Regions from separate parts of the Homo sapiens genome. Here region 1 is linked to region 2. The links are contacts of gene promoters, found by promoter capture Hi-C in blood cells and fetal thymus (Javierre and others, 2016). All regions are on one chromosome and are shown on one strand. The core of a region is centred on a gene start or on the middle of the fragment in contact, and the rest is flanking DNA. Distances in the headings are between cores, read along the strand shown.

Region 1 (4,008 bases), core at 1,431-3,930, 230 kb before region 2:
AACAGGCAAGAGTTAAAAGCTTTCAGTCCTCTCCATTGGCTAGTCAAATCTTCTCTTCTAGAGGCCCCATAGTCTTCAGAGGAACAACCGTGGATTTCTAGCAGCCAGATATGGGTTCAAACCATGGCTCTACCATCTAATAGTCGCAACCATGGGCAACTAAGTCAGTTGACCTTTCTGAGCCTTGGTTTCCCCTACTGTAAATTGAGATTAGTATGAGGATTATGAGTATTGCTGTGTGCAGGTGTGAGGCATAAAGAGCAGAAGCAAATTTCAACCAGTGTGAGTTCTGTTTCCCTTAGATTGAGGCTTAGGAAGTTCACAATCTGTTCCAACACTTCTTTCCAACTTTATTTTCCATGAATCTCCTGTGAAATCTACACGCGTATCTGGTGTGTTATCTCTATTGTGCCCCTATCCCTGATCATTGCTCCCCTGCTAGGAAGAGCCTCTTCACTTGCCTGAGTTGGTTGAATGTAGCAGTTGGGAGGACGGACTCTGTGGTCAGATAGATCTAGTTTCGAATTTTAACCTTTCTGAACCTTAGTCAAGTCACCTGTACAATGAGGCCATACTAATATCTTATTTCATAAATTTGATGGTCTGACTTAATGAGATAAGCTTTGTCCACCTCTTATTAGCCCGACGCACAAGATTCCTGCTAGTCTGGGTGTGGGAGCCCAGATTTGTCCCTGGCATCAACTCTATTGGGTTGAAAAGATCATCCAGAAAACTACAAATGGCATTTTTCAAAGGGTCTTCTAGGGAACACTAGTTCTGAAAGATCGTGATTAGTGTTACATGCGAAGAAGGCTGTGACACCACATAAGGGGAATTATAGGTCAAAGAGAGAGAAACAAGTTTGTTGACTGCAGGCTTTTGAGAGTCTTTAATTGCTAACAGGTATTGCAAGTTTCTAAAAGGTGACAATAATTAACATCATTTTCCAAAGTTGTTTGACCACAGACAGAATCCTTATGTAATGCTCTCCCCAACCCTCCACACCACTAGGATTGCATGTTCTGCAAAACTCAGTTGGGAAATAGTGGTCTAAGTAAACCTGAGCATGATGGTTAATGGCTCATTCAATATTTACATTCCTCTTAGCTGGAACCAAGACATGTCAGAGGGTCAAACTCAATATCTTTAACAGCTACAAGATCAGGAGCTGAGAATTGTATTTACTTTTGATTCTGTAAAGCTTAACTGACCTACTGGTAAAGTAGGTAATAGAGTGAAAGTCACAGCTTGAAGTCTAAGACTTTACGACCCAGTCCTTCCTCCATACGCCGGCTTATTTCATAAACTCCATGAGGGTCTTTTCAGAAGGTCCCTGCGCTCAGCTGTCCTGTCTGCCCAGAGAGAAATGCTCACTATTTAAACTTCTCACTTGACATTTACGTTGTCCTGTCCCATTCTGTTTGTGGACATGGTTTTGTGGTTCGGCCTTTCCTTCTAAATTGTCAGTATTGTTCCCAGGCAGGCTTTGTCATAGAAACAAAGTGCAGTTCAAGGTTTCACATCTGCACAAATAGGCAGGGTGGGTAGCATCGGCCTCATATCCAAGGGAGAGAGTCCGTTGAGTGTTACTCCGATCGGACGGGGGGGGTAGTTCACATGTGCATCCCCAAACAATGATTGCGGCCCTGTGAACAAAATGTGCAGAATGGCATAAAGCCATTGGGAGGTGACATTAATTACCCCGGGAAGATGTGGGAGGCATCTGGTGACGTTATGCAGGAGGGAGTGGTAGACGCGTTCCTAAAGACTCACCCAGCACCCTGAAGGATCACAGCCTTGCTCAGTACATACTTATGAAGGAAGGGTGACCTGAAGAACGCTTGAGCCCAGGGCCTTCACTCTGAACTTACTTCCCTCTATCACAGCCTCTGACTCTGCAACACCTCACCCCAGGGTGCCGCCAGCATAAAGACAGAAGCCTGCAGGGCTCAACAAGGAGAAGGGGCAAAGTGAAGAGAATTCGGGAAGCTCGTGACAGCAAAATCACAGGTCATGGAGTAAAGGGAAGACGAAATTAGAAAGGAGGTTTCCTAATTTGGGACATTGGGAAGATATCTGGCAGAAAATCTGCCTCAAGCAGGTTCATCTGTTTAATTAACCTGAGGCCAGTGACTGTTTTGTTGTTGTTGTTGTTTTATCCATGAAATGTGACCAGCATGAAAAATCTGATATGCATATTTCAGAGGACAGCCCCTGTGACATTCGTCAGCTTATTAAAGGAAACAATATGCCCTAAAACGTGAAAAGCCACTTCCTTGAAACCAAGTCGAGGGGGAATGGTAAACCAAAGTTAGCAGAAATAGAAAAGTAGGGTGTTGGTCAGGAAAGACTTCCTATAGAGATGTGCCTGTCAGAAAGATTACTATTCCCATCCCGCATGCTGGAGACCCATGTGGCAAACAGTGTGGCAGGGACAGACTTTGTTTAAACGAAGGAATTTGCACTGAAGATCATCTTCCGCATTTTTATAAACTTTGAAAGCAGTCAGTGGTCTCAGCATTTTCCTACAAAGGCCATATCCCCACGCGTACATTTGAATTCTCAAAAGCTCTTTCTCCAAAAGCATTGCTAATAAAAAATGTAAAAAAAAAGAATTGTCAAAGGGGCCTCTAGAGATCATTTGACTTGGTTCAATATCTTTAGGCTTGTGAGTATGTAAAACTATCCAAGACACAAAGTTATCAAGTCTTTTTGTTTTGTTCTGTTTTTTTTTTCCTCCCATTAAAGCATTCTAGAAACAAAGACCACTGCTCTGAAGCATTTACTATTCTGATAGGTAATGTGCTCTTATAGTCACCTGAGGCTGTTGTTATTCTTGTGTACTTCTATGCTGCTGATTAATTTTCAAAAGCACGGTACAGAGAAAGGGTGCTCAACATTACTAGTTATTAGGGACATGAGAATTAAAATCACAGTGAGATACAGTCTGTCCTCTGTATCTGTGGGCTCCGTACCTGCTGATTCAACCAACCATGGATCAAAAATAATCCAAACAACAACAAAAATAATACAGATGCAAAAGTAGGGAATAACAACTACTTACATAGCATTTACATTATATTAGGTATTTTAAATAATCTAGAAATGATTTAAAGTATATAAGATGATGTGCATAAGTTATATGCAAATACTATGCCATTATATAGAAGGGACTTGAGCATCCTTGGATTTGGTATCTGTAGGAGGTGGTCTTGGAACCAATTCCCCAAGGATACCAAGAAACAACTCTACTACTACATGCCTGTTAGAACGGTTAAAATTAAAGAGATTGATTTTACTGAGTGTTGGTGAGGGTGTAGAGAAGCTGGAACTCTCATGCCCTGCTGGTGGGAATGTAAAATGGCACAACCACTTTGGGAAACTATTAGCAGTTCTTTAAAAGTTAAACATATGTCTACCATATGATTTGGTCAATCCACTCCTTGGTATTTACCCAAGAGAAATGAAAGCGTGTGTTCACACAAAGACTTAGATATGAATATTCATAAAAGTTTTATTTGTAATCATCAAAAACTGAAAGCAATTACATGTTTGGAATTGAAATGTATGGTAATATAATACAATATAAATGAATGGATAAATCGTGGTATATCCATGCAATGGAATACTACTCAGCAATGAAAAGGAAGAAACTATTAATGCACTTAAGATCATTGCTGATTTTCAAATTAATTATCCTGTGTAATAAAGAATTTGGCCTTTGTCCCCAGTTCCTGGGAGATAGGCTCTAAATCCTTGGAATTTTCCAAGTCGAAGAGTGTCTTTTTTACTGGTGGTTGGCCTGTCAACCACACTTGAGTTTATGCTAATGAGGTGACTCATGATGGGACCTTACACAATTTATGCTAATGGAATGACTCAAGATGGGGGCTGGCCATGCCAGAAAAACCAACCATGTATTTAGAAGGTTGGGGCTTTGAGCTTTTGATATAGGCCTGACTTCTGGGGAGAGGAGCAGGGCTGAAGATTGAGTCATAGGCCAGTGAT
Region 2 (4,223 bases), core at 931-3,430:
TATACTGTGTGTTTTTAATTTGCTTTTTTCATATTATAATATGTCATGAACATCTTTCCCTGTAATTAAGTGTTCTCTAAATGATTTAAAATTTCTGTATAGATCAAGCGACCTCATACTAACAGCTAACATTTCTATATGCATGTACTATGTGCCTGGTTTTATGCATATTTACATTTGCATACATGAGAAAGCCTATTTATATGTGTTACAGACCTGCAATATGTATGTCTATATCCCATCAGCTATAATATTCAAATGTGTCAACTCACGTGATGCTCACAACCCAGTGGGGTAGAAAGTATTATCTCCCTTGTACAGATGGAGGAAACCAAGGCATAGACTTTCCATAGTCACACAGCAGAGGCAGAATTTGAACCCAGGTACCCTGGCTCCGAAGCGTTTCCTCCTAAGAGCTATGCTGCCTTTCAGTATACCATTGCGATTTCACAGGTCACCATGGTTAACCATTTCATTTATTTCCTTTGACCTCACTTTTAATTTGTTATTGTGTCATATTTTATGTACCCTTGTAAGTTACCTGAAATCCTTTCTGCCACAAGGTGAGGTAAGGCATAAATAAACAGTGCAGAGTGTGGTAAACGGCACAAGAAGGCACAGCTAAATTGCTACCCCGGGGTAAGAAGATGAATCCAGGCTGTCCTGCAATGGAATGGATTTATTTTCTTGAGCTGTGGTGAGCTCCCATCCCTGGAAGAGCTGGCTTGGGTGGCCGTCTCTCTGGGAGGCTGGGGAAGGCCTTCTTCCAAGGAGACGGAGCTGGGCCAGACGAGCCCCGAGGCCCCTTCTTAGATTCTCAGGGTTTATGAAAATGCCAATAAGACAAACTGAGGCACTTAATGGAGCTAATGCAGCAAGGCAGCCCTTGGGCCGGAACCAGGACCTGGGGCTTTTCATCCGGGTCTATTACTGGACCACACATCTACAAGTAACAAATAAACGAGCAGAGATTCCGTTCCAAACTCTCGGCCCAGTGTATTCCTTTCCCAGAGCTCTCTGGCTGCTGTTGCAAGATGACCAAAGGATGCTGTCACTGTCCTCAGTCTTTTTATTGGGGCGATGGAGAATGAGGCAAGGAGGGGCTGGGTGGCCCCGCAGATGCCCCATGACACCATCATTCGGCAAGGTTATGCATTTGACGAATGCCCTGCAGTGGAAGGAGCCCAGGCTTCTCTTCCTGTTTTTGATGTTTACTTGGGGGTTGATCTTGTGCGAGTTTCTTCAGCTCCCGGGACCCTCAGTTTCCTCATCTGCAAAATGGAGTTAATACAACAGCAAAGCTGCTGTGGAGGTCCCATGAGCTATTACAGGGCTTTGCACCCTTAAAAATGCGGTTGAGGAAGTACCGATACGCCTGCCTCAGGGGATCTGGGGAGGGCTGGGCTGTCCCCATGCCTGAGACCAGGCAGGCCCGTCTTGGAGGGGCGGTGGCCAGCGTCCAGGTGCTGCCAGCTTCCTACCCCTTCAGCCTCCTGCCCACCACTGCTCCCTTGGCTAGAACGAAGCCGCGTTCCCGACAGACAGGCTCACGCACGGTGATATCCGTGGGAGTGCGGGCGAGCAGCCCCTCCTCGCCGGACCCCGGGGGCTTCGGGCAAAAATGGAGAGCAGGCAGAGGTCACATCCTCCTCCTCTTCCTCACGCTCCCGGGCTGCGTGCCCACAGGGGCACAGCCCTGTGCGCGGTGCCACCGGGGGCCATCAGGCTGGGTTAGAGGAAGGCCCGACCTCCGCGCAGCAAAGAAAACAAACACAGATGTGTTTGGCTGGGACCGGGAGGGAGAAAGTGGCCCCCTTCCCCCGCCCGCGCGCTCCCCCGGGCGTGAGGCTCTCCGGGCGGCGCGGGGCGCGGGCGAGGCTGACAGTCCCCGGCGGCCCCTCCTCCCCCACGGGGTGCGCGCCTGGCCCGGCCCAGCCCCCTCTCCGGGGTTTCCCCGGGTGCTCTCCTCGCTTTCTCTTTGTCTCTGCTGTTCTTTCTCGGGCTCCCGGGTTCCCACCCGCCTGTGCTCTCCCTCTCGGGCGTCCGGGCCGGTTCCCTTTAACTTTCTTCTTTCCCGGGGTGAAAACTTTGCTCGGAGCTGGCGGCAGCTCGCGGACGTTATTGGCCGGCGCCCCGCCCGGCGGCCCCGCCCCCCGCCCCCGCGCTCCCCTCCGCCCCTCACTCCCAGCGCGAGTGGCGGCGGCGGCGGAGCCTTCGGGGGCGAGCGCGCGTGTGTGTGAGTGCGCGCCGGCCAGCGTGAGTGTGTGTGCGCCCCGGGCGCGGGCAGGGCAGCACTCCGAGCTCGGCGGGAGCGGCGGGAGCCGGGCGGCCGCGTAGTCACTCGGGCGAGAGAGGCGGCGGCGGGGCCGGGACCGGGGCTGGGGCTGGGGCAGCGGCGGCCGCGCCGGGCATGGAGCTGGCAAGCCCGCGCTGAGGCGGGACGCGCCTGCTAGCAGCGAGCGAGAGGCTCTCCGGCGACCGGCGCGCGGGCTCCCCGGAGGGGCCAGGCAAACTTTTCTTTCTCTTTTGCCCCCTCCAGAGGTAAAGTCCCGAACGCGGACTTTCCGGCGGGGACGCGATCGGGGGGCATCTGAGAGGGACCCCGGGCTGCGAGACGAAGGGGCGCGGGCCGTGCAGAGTCGGGGTCCCCCAGCTCTCCTGCGCCCGAAACTTGGGGTGCGAGGGGGGCTGGTCGCGGACGGGGAGACCGGCTCAGGCATGCCCCTCGGGCGGCGTGGGGGCGGCGGTGGCGGGGAAGCAGAGCGTTCTCCCGCCGGGCGGGGAAGAAGGGGCGCGAGCGGTGCGGACTTGGAGGGCCCCGGCTTCGCCGCCCGCGGGACTTTGGGGGAGAGAGGCGGGCAGTCGGCTGCGGGGTGGGTGCCCAGGAAGCCGGGCGTTCTCCCGCATCTCCGCTCGCCACCCCGCCGAGAGCTGGAGGGCGCGGGGCGGGCTGGCTGAGCGCAGCTCCCTTCTCTCCGCAGGCGCCTTCTGCGGCAGGCGGACAGATCCTCGGCGCGGCAGGGCCGGGGCAAGCTGGACGCAGCATGATGCGCGCAGTGTGGGAGGCGCTGGCGGCGCTGGCGGCGGTGGCGTGCCTGGTGGGCGCGGTGCGCGGCGGGCCCGGGCTCAGCATGTTCGCGGGCCAGGCGGCGCAGCCCGATCCCTGCTCGGACGAGAACGGCCACCCGCGCCGCTGCATCCCGGACTTTGTCAATGCGGCCTTCGGCAAGGACGTGCGCGTGTCCAGCACCTGCGGCCGGCCCCCGGCGCGCTACTGCGTGGTGAGCGAGCGCGGCGAGGAGCGGCTGCGCTCGTGCCACCTCTGCAACGCGTCCGACCCCAAGAAGGCGCACCCGCCCGCCTTCCTCACCGACCTCAACAACCCGCACAACCTGACGTGCTGGCAGTCCGAGAACTACCTGCAGTTCCCGCACAACGTCACGCTCACACTGTCCCTCGGCAAGAAGTTCGAAGTGACCTACGTGAGCCTGCAGTTCTGCTCGCCGCGGCCCGAGTCCATGGCCATCTACAAGTCCATGGACTACGGGCGCACGTGGGTGCCCTTCCAGTTCTACTCCACGCAGTGCCGCAAGATGTACAACCGGCCGCACCGCGCGCCCATCACCAAGCAGAACGAGCAGGAGGCCGTGTGCACCGACTCGCACACCGACATGCGCCCGCTCTCGGGCGGCCTCATCGCCTTCAGCACGCTGGACGGGCGGCCCTCGGCGCACGACTTCGACAACTCGCCCGTGCTGCAGGACTGGGTCACGGCCACAGACATCCGCGTGGCCTTCAGCCGCCTGCACACGTTCGGCGACGAGAACGAGGACGACTCGGAGCTGGCGCGCGACTCGTACTTCTACGCGGTGTCCGACCTGCAGGTGGGCGGCCGGTGCAAGTGCAACGGCCACGCGGCCCGCTGCGTGCGCGACCGCGACGACAGCCTGGTGTGCGACTGCAGGCACAACACGGCCGGCCCGGAGTGCGACCGCTGCAAGCCCTTCCACTACGACCGGCCCTGGCAGCGCGCCACAGCCCGCGAAGCCAACGAGTGCGTGGGTGAGTGGGGTGCGGCGGCGGAGCCGGCGGCGGGTGGGGCCGCGGGCGGGAGCTGCTGGGCCTCGCAGCGGCGAGTTCATAGGAGCGCGGGTCGAGGGAACGGCGGGAGGCGCGTTCGCCGATGCCCGGGACCCGGGAGGGCTCAGAGCAGGTCCACTCGC

What was found. Contacts are between HindIII fragments. The CHiCAGO score rates a contact against its expected background, and 5 or more counts as called.
Region 1: a fragment that was not itself captured here is called in contact with the fragment with the promoter of NTN1 in region 2 in 5 of 17 cell types (total CD4 T cells, activated CD4 T cells, naive CD4 T cells and 2 more); the score reaches 6.3 in total CD4 T cells.

Annotation. Positions count from the first base shown.
Region 1 is chr17:8,788,108-8,792,115 of GRCh38, forward strand. No RefSeq gene overlaps it. Among named protein-coding and RNA genes, the nearest start is that of MFSD6L, 9.3 kb to the right of the region's middle. The HindIII fragment of the contact is 2,963 bases long and covers 1,200-4,008 here.
Region 2 is chr17:9,019,330-9,023,552 of GRCh38, forward strand. NTN1 (netrin 1) reads left to right here and starts at 2,181. Exons shown (of 7, transcript NM_004822.3): 1 at 2,181-2,256; 2 at 2,982-4,062. The coding sequence starts at 3,045. RefSeq lists silencers at 1,543-1,592, 1,643-2,432 and an enhancer at 1,579-2,122. The HindIII fragment of the contact is 7,248 bases long and covers 1-4,223 here.